5 separate regions of the Homo sapiens genome follow, and all the other regions are linked to region 4. The links are contacts of gene promoters, found by promoter capture Hi-C in blood cells and fetal thymus (Javierre and others, 2016). All regions are on one chromosome and are shown on one strand. The core of a region is centred on a gene start or on the middle of the fragment in contact, and the rest is flanking DNA. Distances in the headings are between cores, read along the strand shown. Region 1 holds the start of PCNP (PEST proteolytic signal containing nuclear protein). Region 2 overlaps ARL13B (ARF like GTPase 13B). Region 3 overlaps NSUN3 (NOP2/Sun RNA methyltransferase 3). Region 4 holds the start of RIOX2 (ribosomal oxygenase 2). Region 5 holds the start of SENP7 (SUMO specific peptidase 7).

Region 1 (2,700 bases), core at 120-2,619, 3.6 Mb before region 4:
AAAGTAGTAGATGGTTTAAATTTAAATTGTTCTTTCATAAGGTATTTTACTAGTTATAAAAAAAAAAAAAGACAGGGGGTGGGGAGGGAAGAGAGAGATGGAGTTCCAGCTTAACTAACAGAATTGTACGTGTTTTTTAAAAAGGAAATCCTGGGTCCAAAGTAATTAACATTACACTTAATCTTTTCAATAATTTTTGTTCCCAAGGCAATTAACATGAAACATTATGTTAGTAGGTCTACTAGTGGCCTTCATATGCTATTAATCGTTTCTATTTTCTCATATTAAATAATTTCGGGAATGATAACTAAGGTGGTCAGAATAGAGAATAATGTTTAAAATGTTCTAAAAACATTTTAAACAGCTCGCACGTGTTAAGTCACTTGTCTTGTTATGTGCAAAGAGGGAGCTGGAGAGATTACGTTTCTTTTCCTTCACGCACAAGACCCGAATTTAGGGAGTGGAATGGACAGAATAAGGATAGCTGTAACCTGAGTTTAACGTCGTAACAAAATACAGGAAGAGTCACGCTAGACTATTTAGTCGCCTAAGTATCTGGCAAGCGGTCAGCTGGCAACAGCCTAAGGGAGATACTTCAAAGAAAAGCAACCAAACCTTAGCCCTAGACCCCGCAGCTTAAACCAGAGGGCAGGCAAAGGCATTCCTCTTCCCCTCCATCACCTCGGCCCATCCTGTCACAGGGTCAATATTAAACTTGGAAGTAAAGGAAAGAGAGCAGGCCGGAGTTGTCCACCTCCTCAGTGAAAAGGGAGCAGCAAGCGTAATTAACTCCTGCGTGTAACTGAGAGGCCGGCACCGTCAGAAACTCAGCCTGCGGCCAGTTCCCGCGGCAACTACTCGGTGGCTCGCACTGTGTGTATGTTATGTCTCATGAGCGTCTCCGGTGTGTGTGTTTTGTGTGATGTGCGTCTCCGGTGTGGCGGTAGCGGCTCCTGCACCGCCGCTCCTGGTCCCACCCCGAGTTCGGTCTCCCTTTCTGGCGCCCATCTCCCTTCTCCTCGGAATCAGGGCCTCCGCTGGGGCCAGGAGGTGACGAACAGTGGCCGGCTCTCCCCAGGCAAGGAGGCGATGTAGGCCCGGAGCCCAGAGGGCCGCATCGGGCGTGCCCGAGGCAGGTCTGGGCCCAACACCTGGCCGGGTGAGGTCCAGATCCGCCCATTCTCGCCCCACCCCACTCCCCCCACCCTGGGAGCTCAAAGAAAGGCCCGGAGCATCCCACGCTGCCCACGACGCTGGGGTTGTGTTCACCTCCGGCGGCTCCAGCTCGCTGCGACTTTTCAGGCTTCTCGTCTCCCGCCTTCCCGTCCGCCATTTTCCCCGCCGCGGCCTCCCCTGCAGCCACGCCAAGGACGTCACGACCCCGCCCAACAACCATCGAGTTTTTGGGGCCAGCCGGCGTGGTGGCAGCCTAGAGCGGTCCCGAGGAATGAAAAGAGGCCGCCTTCGGAAGCGGAAGTGGATGTGATGTCATCGAGTAGCCGCCTCGGAAGGAAGAGCTGGGAAGGTTGGGCGGTCTAAGAGTGCTGGCTAGGCACTTTATTAGAGGGCAGTCAGGTCTTCATGGTCTAGCGACAGGTCCGGAGAAGTGAGGGGAAATGGAGCATCTCCCTGGAAACGCTGGGATCTTAGAAGGTTTCTGCATACCCAGATGTGGTTGCAGCTGAGGCTGAGAGTGTCTTCCGTTCCGGCCTTGCTGGATAACGCATGCCTGCCAACTCTATGTAAACAAAAAGCCTGCATTCTTTTTCCCTAAAGGGGAAATCAGTGTTTATCTAGCGCCCCCTAGCTTCAGACGCCTTTCATACACTCGTTTAATCACGGCGATTGTCCAAATATAGAATTCTCCTCTCAATTACCTGTAAGAGTTGAGGTCAGAGAGAGTAATTTGTCTAAGTCACGTAGCCAACTGTAAAGTTACTTTTTGTATAGTCTGCTTCTACCAAGTTGAGAAACTACTATGTCAAGTTAAGACTGCAGTAATTTCTGCCTTAATAAGAAACCTTTAGTGGATTCCTACAGTCTGCATTCTGAAGTCCGTGAGTTACATTAGGCCCTAGCCTACCTTTTCGGCTTCATCTTCCCCCTTTCTCAGTATTTATCCAGCCCTCCTAGCCAAATGGGGTCTATTACTTGCTTAGGGAACTGGAGTTTCTGGGTTTGTCTTACCATATATAGTTAGAGAAAGTCTTAGGAGTCAGAACTTGGATTTGAATCTGTTTTGCCCTTTCCTGCTTGAGTAACCTTGAGACTTGCTTACTGCCTACAGAGCTACCTTTTCTTCTCTATAAAAGAGCAATAATAATAGTACCTCCTCAAAGAGTGGTAATAGGGATCAAATGAGATCATCTTTGTATACCATTATTTGGTCACTTCATACTTCCCTCAGTTTGTGTGTGTGTGTGTGTGTGTGTGTGTTTTAAGTGTTGTCTCTCTGAATGGCTCAAAAGTTCCTTGACAACAGAGACCAGTTTTTAAAAACTGTGTACTGTGCGTTTCATATATGAATATAAAAAGTGTTCAATATTTGCGGATGGATTACTTCTCGGGCTTCAAGTCCAGGGAGTGGAGAAAGAATGAAGAAATTATCAAAGTGTGTTTCCCATGACAGAAGCAGGGCAGTGTGGTGGTGATTTTGTGATCTAGGTTGAAGTCCCTGATCCATCATTTATCATATATGTA
Region 2 (2,700 bases), core at 131-2,630, 3.9 Mb after region 4:
TCTACTGTAGTCAATATAAACATCACGATGTCAAGTCAGTAAACTAAACAGAGAGATGAGATTTCACTGAAAATACCACTTCAGTAATTCTGATGGAGTCTAAGGACAAACTTTTCTGTCTTTAAAAAAAAAAAAATTCATGAATTTTCACTAACGATTATCAAGAAATATTTCAATACTGACCTAAATAGAATTCTGGGGGAAAAAAGCAAATAGCACATTTATATTTAAGTACCTTTTAAACAAAAATATTTAAACTGGTTTGATATAATTTCAAATTATATGGTAATGCTTTTCTAAAGAGTAAACTTCTGAGTTTTTTCCTAGTAAGTGAAACCAAGTTCTAGACTAGGTAAACACAGAGCTGTCCAAAAAGGAATTGGATGTTCTTAACAAACAAGTTTATTGAACTACATTTATCTATAATTCTTTTGCATTCTAGAAATATTTTACTGAAGGGACCTAGACTGATGGTCTGTAATCAGAACTTCTCCTTGTTTTATAAGGCAGTTCTCTACTTCTCCTAAATATCCTTCCTCTAGTTTTTGCATCCTAGAATTCTAATGCCATAAACTATCTAGACTATAGCGTATGTTATATTCAAAGAAAACTGTTCTCTTAATTCAATAAAAATGTTAGTAACTTTCTACTTAGTCGAACTTTATTAGGTTTACTGATTTGATCTCTGATTTTATAAACTGTGTTGATCTTTACTTCACTTTAATGTTCAGCAGCTGGTTGTCTTATTAGGAGTAGAGAGAAAAAATTATGTGCCATTATCATTGAGTATATTGAGCATATACAGGAAACTACAGCTTTTAACACTTAAGTTATAAATTCTAATGTCTCATAGTTAAATTATTTTAAAACATTTCCTTTTTATTATAACTCCTTGTATAAATATATCATGGATAATAAACACAAGCTATGATTCTTTTTACCTCTGTATTCTAAGGTAAACACCAAATTAAATGATATAGATGTAAAGCATACTTAAGAATAAAAAATTAAATAAAATGAAAAAAGACGTATAATGAAAAAGGATAGCTGTGGATTTGACAAGCTTCTAAAACTAAAACATAAGTTTGTTGAAATTATAAGGCTAAAGAAAAGTGAATGTGACATGTACAGATGATATCTGAAAACCAATCCTTTTGCATTACCATTATGATGTGTTTCACCAAGAGGCTCAAGTTTTGGAAGTCTAGTGACTTTAGGGGTTCCCCAGCCAACTAAAGAAAAAGAAAAACATTTAAAAAACACTGTTAAACAAGGTTTCTTTAGGTCTGTTGAGAGGATCCCTCCCTGGAAAGGAAGCATATGTAACATTCAATGTCAATTCAAATATATTGAATGACAGTATGGAAAGCCAGAAACCCATTTTAAATGGCTTCTATATTTTAAAATGTAATTATAGGCTGCTAACATCTGCTTTAACTTTTCAGTAGCTTTTAATAAAAACTATAAGCACCTTCACCACTATCAAAAACAAACTCATGCTATCATTCTAACTCTAGGCAGAAACTAAATATTTTCTTAATAAATGGAATACTGGAAATGAGTCTATAAGAGATTCTTAAAATGTTACCAAATAATTTCTAAAGCCTTGTAGCAGGGCTATAAGGGCACTATACACATATTTATCTAGTCATTACATATTTACTGACCACCTATAGTAGGTGAGGTGCTAAGCTTAGTGCTGAAAAGTTACTCAAAATTATTGTGCAAGTTAAGTCCCAGTGTTTTATATGCATTACTCCATTTAATCCTCGTAACAACTTAGGACATGGGTATGTATATTGAAAATGTATTAGAAAAAATTAATACATCTTGGTTTCAAACATTAACTTTCAGGATGAAAGGTCCAATTTTTTTTTTTTTTTTTTTTTCCCGAGATGGAGTCTCACCCTGTCACCCAGGCTGGAGTGCAATGGAGTGATCTTGGCTCACTGCAACTTCTCCATCCCAGGTTCAAGCGATTCTCCTGCCCCAGCCTCCTGAGTAGCTGGGATTACAGGCATGTGCTACTACGCCCAGCTAATTTTTTTTTTTTTTTTTTGTATCTTTAGTAGAGACGGGGTTTCACCAAGTTGGCCAGGTTGATCTCGAACTCTTCACCTGGTTATCTGCCCGCCTCGGCCTCACAAAGTGCTGGGATTACAGGTGTCAGCCACCATGCCGAGCCGGTTCAATGTTTTAAAAACTCATGTTAGCCATCCATCGTGAAACTTAAATTAACATGTGGGTACTGATATTTCAAATAGAACTTGAACATATTCTAGGAAATACTGGGTAAAATTTTCTTAATAGTTTTTACTTATTTTTTTCTTTATAAAACATTTTTTTATTCAAAAAAGCAATGGACATTTGTGTTAGCAAATTTTGTCCAAATCAGAGTAAAAGATTCTTCTTCACAAGTATACAAGATAATGAATATACAGAATAAAAATGACAAGATTCCTTTTTTCTTTTTTTTTTTCTCTGTTGTTTAAAGCAATATTTCTAAATTCAGTATCAGTATCAATTTACTCACCAGGAGGAGGGGGTGGGGGTGGCGTTGGACTCTCAGGAGCACAGTCATCTATATTAAGTGGTTCTACCCGGTGGTTCCTTTTCATTCTTAGTTTCTTAGTTTTCTTTTTACCATTAGCTACAAGAATATAAACATGAAACTTCATGTCTTTATGAAAAAGTGCACTT
Region 3 (2,700 bases), core at 121-2,620, 3.9 Mb after region 4:
ATAAATTCCTAAGAAACAAAAGAAAAATTCCTAAGAAACAAAAGAAAAATATTAAAACTGACCAAAAAAAAATTAAGTAAAACTAGACAGATGGTACACAAGAATAACTGAATTTTGAGAAACAGTTAATGAAGCTAAACTAATATATCACACTGTGTGTCACCCTGCCTGCTTACCCATTTCCCTAACTCATTTATATGGGAGCCTTGACTTATTTTTCTCCTTGGCTAAGTGCCTGGGGCCTAAATCCTGGAGTAAATGAATAAAATTGGAGTTCTGATTCAAGGCTCTCTGAACTACTTACTATTTTAACAAAATTAAAGCATTAAAAAATTAAAAGCTAGTTAAGTTAAAATTTTGCAAAACTGTATAATGTATCATTTCGATAATGTTTATTATTTGATAGTATAATTTTCATTCAACTTTTCTGTGACTTTATTCTTTTTTCCTACTACTCTACTCTCCACCCTACCTTCCGTCCTAGTGACGAAGATGAAAAATATCATTTAATCTAGAAATTGTTAAACACAATTAATATAACCCTGTAGATTACAGAACCTATTTAAATTTCCATAGCTAAAAAAGAGAAATTCCTTGATTTAGTGCTATTATTATCCACTAGAGGGTGCTCATTCAACTCTTTTAAAAGTTAGAAATGAAAAACAAATCAATTTATGGAAATGCACCAAAGTATGTTTTTGAGTCATTTTATTTTTACTCCTCAGAGATGCTAACGAAGAGCTGATGGCTTCCTATTCTATTTTGGCAATGGATCTTCCTTGTATCTCACAGAAGGGCAATTTATGTCCAGATTTGTTATTCACTGTACCTCAGATAGGAAATCCTTTGCGTTTCTGGTGGAACATCAAAAGGCTAAAAATCCTGAACATAAGAGTCCTTCATACTACGGGATCTGAGCATACATTTGGAAGGATGCAACTCTGGACCCTTCACAGCAGCACAGATGGTATAGGAAAAGGCGTGGACTTTTAAGTCACAGGACTGAATTTGCCACAACTACAAGATACCTATCAATTGTTCTAACCTCTGACTTTAAAGTGTCTAAAAGTTACTTCTTCACAGAGATTTGCACAGATTAAGGCTGAAAATGTGTGTAAAGCCAACATATAGGACAATATAGAAATCTAGATACTGGTTCATTTCTCTCTTTCTTAACCACCTCAGTCTACATCCTTCACAGATTATGGTAATATTATCAGGTTGTGTGTGTGTATGTGTGTGTGTGTGTGTGTGTGTATTTTTTTTTCCTCTCTGTATGTGAACTCTCGGTCAGTGAGGAGAGTGTCCAAAAAAAAAAAGATGTTGCAGACAGTTCAGACTTATATGGTCTGTTTGTTTTGCTTTCTATAAAGTACATGTAAAATTTCCACAGTTAATAAATATTTCTAATTAATGCTTATATTAATCATACATTTATTAAGTATCCATTAATTATCCAATTAATCATACATGTATTTGAGGGCAGGATATATACAGTCCATTTTTGTATTCTCAGTGCTTAGCACAATGCCTAGTACACAAACACTGACAAAACTGGGAATAAGCAGAAGACTTGCCCAAGTCTCAAGGTATTGGTTCTTCAAAACCCTCCCTTGTCAGGAAAAAGATAAGCAAGTTAGTAAATTATGACGATAAAACCTTGAAAGAATCACAATAGCTCTATCAACAAAATGCAATGGATACACGAAGGGCAAAACTAATTTTGCCAAGGGACATACAGAAGGCTTGATGAAGTGGTTAATCATAGTAACAAAAATAATGCTAATGCATATGAAGTCCTTACTATACGTCAAACAACATTCCATTCACATTGTATATACACAAATTCATTTTATCTTCCCAAATGATTATATGAAATAGATACTATTTTTTCCCCATTTTACAGACGAGGACAATGGAGCACAGAGATATTAACTCACCTAGGTCATATGCTACAAGATGCAGAGGTGGGATTTGAACCCACACTACTGCACAGAGGGAGAAGGGAAAAAGGCATTCCTAGCAGAAGAACAGCATAGCCAGTCCCAAAGGCATGAAGGAGCCTGCCCAGAAAGATAAGATTTTTAGTCCAAACATAATACTGCAGACTTCTGGGGAGCAAAGGTTTGTACTCAAGGTGTGACACAATGGAATTTGGTAGCACCGAGAAACAGCATGACAGAGTGGGTACAACAAACTCTCAAGGCTCTTCAAAGTGTTAGATGTGTATACTTGGGCAAGTTAAAGTGTGAGATGTGTATACTTGGGCAAGTTACTTAACCTCTGTGTGCCTCAGCTTTCCTATATATAAATGGAAATAACTATTTCAGAGGGTTGTACATAGGATTGTTATTATTCATAAAGTGATTACAACATTGACTGGTACATAGTGCCATAAAAGTGGTTGCTAAAATAAGCAAACAGGTAAGTACTAAACATGGCTGTTGCAATATGCCAGATAAGAGATTGGGAAGGTCTAAGTGAATGGCAGCAGTAGAGAATTTTTTTAAAAAGATCCAAATTAAAAGGGGGCAGGGTAGTTGAGTCTCAAAGACAACTCTCACTTCTGACACCAATTACAAGTTCAGGGATTCCAAGGATGACTCTCAGGTTTGATTATTCACTGGGACACAACCGAACTCACTGAAAGCTGTTATAATCACAGTTATAGTCACAGTTTATTATAATGAAAGCATACAG
Region 4 (2,702 bases), core at 157-2,656:
CAAGTGGTGGACGTGTGAGAATTTACCTTTATCTGAATCCCGGGAACAGCAATATTATTCTATATTATCTTGAGTAGATGTCTTGCAGTCAAAATAAAGAGCGAAGTACATTACCAATATCATATCAACTAGAGATTTTTGCTGTTGACTATTCTTTTTTACCCTGTAAGGGCTAAATTTGATGTTACCCTCGAGTTTTTCCAACTGGAACCTGCCAGGAAACTTACTAGTTATACGAGTATTAGTAAAACGTGAAAAAGACCAACAGTTGACTGACTGGTTTGGCTCTAATCTTGTTTCTGCATCTTCCTAGCTGTGTGATCTTGTGCAAGTTAGTTAACCTCTCCTGACTCAGTTTCCTCAACTGTAAAATGGAGGTAATTGCAAGGTTGTAGTGAGGATGAAGTGAGGAGTATTTGAAACACCTAGCGTGGTGCCTTATAGCCAGGAAGAACTCAATTCAAGACTTGCTATTATTGTTAGTTTTAGACAAATACTAGACAAGGGTGTACTTTGTTCCCATTTGTTCATGTGCCACTTGATCCTTAGAAGCAGCCACTGGTCTCAGTCACCTTGACGGAACGAAATGTCGACTTCCTCTGGGTCCTCTGGCTGTCTACAGAGCAAAGAAAGGCACAGGCCCGCCACTGATTTCCCTGCTCCCTCATTTGTGCCTCCTGACTGGAACCAAATGTTCCAAAGCAGGGAGTGTTAGGCTGAAAGGACTCAGATAACTGCATTTCTTCTGTTTCTATAGCCATAGTCGCAACGAATTTCCAGTATCTTTTAAAACTAGGATTGACTCTCTCTCCCGGAGCGAGATGATATAAATGACACTCGGCTTGTACAAATCAGCATTGTGTAGCCACACAGCCCATAAGAAAGCCATGGGAGAACCCGGACCACCAACTCCCTAAACTTGCACCGCTGGTATTCCTCTTCAGGCCTGCTTCTCTATTCATAAAAGGAACGGAGTTGCACCAAAACGCTCTCTCAAATCCTCTCCTGCCGCCCCAAGTTAAAAGAAAAAAAAGGAGAGCCGGGTGGGTGGCTCACACCTATAATCCAGCACTTTGGGAGGCCGAGGCAGGAGGATCGCTTGAGCCCGGGAGGTAAAGGTTGCAGTGAGCCAAGATCGCTACCACTGCACTCCAGCCTGGGCGAGAGTGAGACCTTGTCTCACATACCATAAAAAAAAAAAAAAAAAAAAAAAAAAAAAAAAAAAGAGGAAAAAAAAGGCCATTTATTTCCTTCCATATGGACTAAAGAAACGCCCGGGCGTGAACGCGGAACACCGCCGGGTAGCCAGGCCTCCGGGCTGCCACCACTTGCGGGCCGGCGTGGCGGGGCGGGGCGGGGGCTGGAGCACGGCCCGGAGCGTGCCCACGCTGCCCCGCCTCCAGCCGCTGCGCCGCAACGCAGTGGGCTCGCGGCCGCGAGCAACAGGCCGTGCCGGGTGAGTGGGGCGCTCTCGTGGGCATCCCAGCGCCGGGGCAGGCCGGGTAGTGCCCGATCCCGCGGGGCGCGCGCTGCTGCTTTAGGCACCCGGGCTCGGGTGCGGGTCTGGGAGACCTGTCGGTCGGCGAGAAGCCTCGGTGGCCGGCGCTGTGGTTGCGGGACCTGGGACGCGCTCCCAGGCGTCCCACCTCCCCGGAGACTGGGGCAGGGTGGGTGGGGCCCGGATCTAGGGGTAGGGTCGCGGAAGCCTTGGTTACAGAGAGTCGCACACGTGGCCTGCTAATGGTCGCGACACCGGTGACGAGCGCACGGAAAGTTTGGAGGCTTAGCAAGGAGGGTGGTGCCGGCCTCCGCCCGGTGGTGGCAGAACTGCCTGTGCGAGCACGGCTTCCACGTGGGCTGCGCCGCCGGGCGTCATGTCGGGCCTAAGAGACACGCTCTACAGCTGTGAAATCTGAAGTTCAGGTGTGTGGGGAGAAGGGCAGCTGCATTACATCATATGCTTCCAATTCATTTACCAGCAAATAATTCCGCAACGATTGGCCGACAGCTGGGTTGTCCAACAGGTTACTGAGACCAGGTTATTCACTGTTTTCAGGAAGGATAGACTGGGAGGAAGAGGATCTGATTTCGCCACTCATTAGCTGTAAATCTGGTGCCTCGGGTTTCATGTCACTGGGCTCATCTTTGAGCAGAGGAACCTGATTTACTCAGCTTCTTCTGCTGGTACTGGTTTTTGCCTCCTGGACATCAAGCTTTGTAACCTCATGGTCACGAAAATACATTGAGGTATAGTCCGTTTCCTCTCTAAAATCAGACTAAAAAGATAACTGCTGATCACTCCTTTAGGTCAATAGGAGAACCAGTTTTCCCTCTGGATTGATTAACATATCTCTGAGCCAAAAAGAAATGTTTTAGATCAGTCTGGGCAACCTTGTTACAAGCAATATATAATTTCTGACAGCCGTGTGTTTAACTGAGCTGCGTTTGACTGTTGTCCTCCATTAGTGGACCTAAAATTCATCTAGAGAGCGTATTACGTTAATGCAGATTATGGGCCTCAGCCATCAGAAGTGGCAATCCAGTGGGCTTGATGAGGGCCCAGAAATTTGCATGCTAACAACCTTGCTGGTAACTCTGAACTACATTCTGTAAAACTGCCCAGGGGATGTAGAAATTCATACTTCCCTCCCCGATTTAGTAATAACTACTGATGTCTAAAGTGCCTTTTAGCTTTTACGATA
Region 5 (2,700 bases), core at 107-2,606, 3.5 Mb before region 4:
AGGCAGGAGAATGGCGTGAACCCAGGAGGTGAAGCTTGCAGCGAGCCGAGATTGTGCCACTGCACTCCAGCCTGGGCGACAGAGCGAGACTCCGTCTCAAAAAAAAAAAAAAGTTAATTTGTGAGGAAACTGAAAATTCAATTATTTTTCAGAAAGCAATGTTTTTGTTAAACAGAAATTAACCAAATAAAACGAAATCCTTACAGTAAACTTCAATCCCAGCAAGACTTAAAGTATTTCTGCTTTGCAGTCATTCCTGCCATGTAGAACACTTCCCCAGGCCCAACACCCCACAACACCTGGGGCCTTACCTCTACCTGGGGACTGACCACATTATAATTAAGAAGGCTTAACTCACGATGAAGGGGACTGCTCTAGTGGACGAGTTGGGCCGATCCCTTTATTGACTCCGTTAGGATGGGAGATGGGGGTTGGAGGGATAGGCGTTAGGGGTATAAAGGGGCCAGCTTGGGAATCAAACCCTACTTCCAGAGTCCCTTCGGGCTTTGAACATGCCAGAAACATTTTCCCTGCTTAGAGCACTGTGCTGAATTTTGTTAAACTTGTGATTAAATCGTCATGAAAGCTTACACGTGCATTTAAAAATTATTCAGATATGCACCATTAGGGATAATCAGGCTAATAGTACCAGACCTTGAGTTCATTGAGGACTGGATTAGTCCCTTAAGTATCGTGGTAAATGTTAATTGAACAAATTCCAAGTTTATAGCCACCCACTTTCTGTCATATCAGCATTTCAGTTATTGAAAAATTAAGTTCTAGCTTTTCTTTTAAGGAACTTTAAAAATCACAAGTTCGAATTTTAAAAAGGAATCCTAAGACATTTTTCCTCGTCTGCTGACATATTTCCACAGCAAATGCTAAACTAATAGCTAGGCTATTATTAGGTGATTTTGCCATCTTAAAATCTTTTGGTTTCTGAGTTCGAGGAAAGGCGTTGGGGGCAAATATGTAAGAGAGGCTGTGAGGGATGTAATACTGCAAACGCTAACGTTTTGTTTTCATAGTTGTTTGGCCACCTCGCGAGATCCAGTGAACCGGAGGAGTTCCTGTTTTTCCCTTTTAATTTTTGTCAATCTAATCTTCAAAGTCAACAAAGCTAAAATCGAGCACCCAGGTGGTTCACCTCCCCAGAGGGGCTCAGATCATGAAATAAACGCCACCAAAAAAACGCTGGAAGAGGCAGCCCACAGTGAAAAGTCCCAGGAAGTGATTTCCGGTCGAAGGTGGGAGGGGCGGCTGATTTCCGGTCGAAGGGCAGGCGACGGCTCTTGCGCAAGCGCGCTTCGCACTTTGCGGGCTTTTTTTTTTTTTTTTTTTTTTTTTTTTTTTTCCTTTCCCCTCCCCCTCCCTCTCCAAGCCGGAGGGGTCCTGAGGTGACAGCGCCTGCAACTGAAATTTCAGCAGCGGGAGAAGATGGACAAGAGAAAGCTCGGGCGACGGCCATCTTCATCCGGTGAGAAAGGGTCAGAGAAGGGCTGAACATATTGTCTCCTACCCGGGGGAAACGGGAGGCGCAGGCGGCAGCTGGGGTTGCGGCCCGAAGCCGCGGGGGCGAGGGCGGGGGCGGGGAGAGGAAGGGGCGCGCACAATGGAAGGCTCCCGGGTCGCCCCCGCCCCTGGAGTCGAAGACCCGGTCCGAGCTGTCATCGAAGCCTCGGGCGCTCTTCACCTCAAAACCCCTTTTATTTTTTCCCTCCTCCCGCGAACACCCTCCTTGCGTCTCATCGGCCCATGGATCTTCCCGGTTGGCTTGTCACTCTCTGCCACGCCTTCCTCGTAATTCCACCAATGTTCCAATTTCATTTCGGCTTCTCAGCGCCTGACCCCACTTTCCTCTCTTCCTTTGATTCTCGACTTTGCGTCCCTTCCCCTCTCCCTCCTCTTTCCCTCAGCAGGTAGCTGCTGCTGGGGAGGAAAGGTGGGGCTTGCGACCGGAGACTCCTTTTCTTTGATACAATGCCTCTCCGGGTCTCGTTCTGCTGAACAGGCCCGCCTAATAGCCTTTTTCTTTTCCAGCCTACCCTGCGTCTTCCAAAAGTGATTGGAAAGTCAAACAAAGGATTTGAAGCCGTGCTTTCGTTGTGTTTTTATTTTCAGCATATTTTTTGTTTTGGACGTTACTTTGTTTTAAATGACTATCTTCAGTTTTGTGTACAACGTCTTGGAAACAAGAAAGTGGAGTTATAAAAACGTGAGGTAGAGCTCCTCCCAGTTGAGAAGTTTTTATCAAACATTTCATCCATTAGGGGGTCCTCAAGTCCTTGTGTTAAGTCCTATGGATGGTAGGAGGAGAGGACGAGGACTCATATGCTTACAGTCCAGTACACAAACGAACGCCCAATGAATCAATTATTTCATTTCATTTTTCTGTTTCTGATGGTACCGTTGGTTTCTGCAGAGACAGTTAACAATTACAGATTTATTGGCCGGGCGCGGTGGCTCACGCCTGTAATGCCAACACCTTGGGAGGCCGAGGCGGTCGGATCACAAAGTCAGGAGATCGAGACCATCCTGGCTAACATTGTGAAACCCCGTCTCTACTAAAAAATGCAAAAAATTAGCCGGGCGTGGTGGCGGGCGCCTGTAGTCCCAGCTACTCAGGAGGCTGAGGCAGGAGAATGGCGTGAACCCGGGAGGCGGAGCTTGCAGTGAGCCGAGATCGCACCACTGCACTCC

What was found. The method cuts DNA at HindIII sites, captures the fragments that hold promoters and counts their contacts. A CHiCAGO score of 5 or more calls a contact.
Region 1: the fragment with the promoter of PCNP here is called in contact with the fragment with the promoter of RIOX2 in region 4 in 1 of 17 cell types (activated CD4 T cells); the score reaches 5.9 in activated CD4 T cells.
Region 2: a contact is called between a fragment that was not itself captured here and the fragment with the promoter of RIOX2 in region 4, in 1 of 17 cell types (total B cells). The highest score is 7.1, in total B cells.
Region 3: a fragment that was not itself captured here is called in contact with the fragment with the promoter of RIOX2 in region 4 in 2 of 17 cell types (total B cells and activated CD4 T cells); the score reaches 7.1 in total B cells.
Region 5: a contact is called between the fragment with the promoter of SENP7 here and the fragment with the promoter of RIOX2 in region 4, in 1 of 17 cell types (activated CD4 T cells). The highest score is 5.1, in activated CD4 T cells.

The regions. Positions count from the first base shown.
Region 1 is chr3:101,572,849-101,575,548 of GRCh38, reverse strand. It overlaps PCNP (PEST proteolytic signal containing nuclear protein), which reads right to left and starts at 1,369. Exons shown (of 5, transcript NM_020357.3): 1 at 1,270-1,369. The coding sequence starts at 1,333. RefSeq lists enhancers at 850-1,009, 1,030-1,189, 1,270-1,399, 1,500-1,769, 1,213-2,158. The HindIII fragment of the contact is 5,212 bases long and covers 1-2,700 here.
Region 2 is chr3:94,049,356-94,052,055 of GRCh38, reverse strand. ARL13B (ARF like GTPase 13B) reads right to left here. Exons shown (of 10, transcript NM_001174150.2): 8 at 2,534-2,650; 9 at 1,164-1,232. Among named protein-coding and RNA genes, the nearest start is that of DHFR2, 12 kb to the left of the region's middle. The HindIII fragment of the contact is 629 bases long and covers 1,066-1,694 here.
Region 3 is chr3:94,067,343-94,070,042 of GRCh38, reverse strand. All of the region lies in intron 2 of NSUN3 (NOP2/Sun RNA methyltransferase 3), which reads right to left. Among named protein-coding and RNA genes, the nearest start is that of NSUN3, 5.6 kb to the right of the region's middle. The HindIII fragment of the contact is 2,789 bases long and covers 1-2,700 here.
Region 4 is chr3:97,971,135-97,973,836 of GRCh38, reverse strand. It overlaps RIOX2 (ribosomal oxygenase 2), which reads left to right and starts at 1,406. Exons shown (of 10, transcript NM_153182.4): 1 at 1,406-1,456. LOC124909398 (a long non-coding RNA gene) reads right to left here and starts at 1,184. Exons shown (of 2, transcript XR_007095976.1): 1 at 27-1,184. RefSeq lists a silencer at 1,222-1,661 and an enhancer at 1,932-2,191. The HindIII fragment of the contact is 3,966 bases long and covers 1-2,215 here.
Region 5 is chr3:101,511,868-101,514,567 of GRCh38, reverse strand. It overlaps SENP7 (SUMO specific peptidase 7), which reads left to right and starts at 1,356. Exons shown (of 24, transcript NM_020654.5): 1 at 1,356-1,477. The coding sequence starts at 1,438. The HindIII fragment of the contact is 4,750 bases long and covers 589-2,700 here.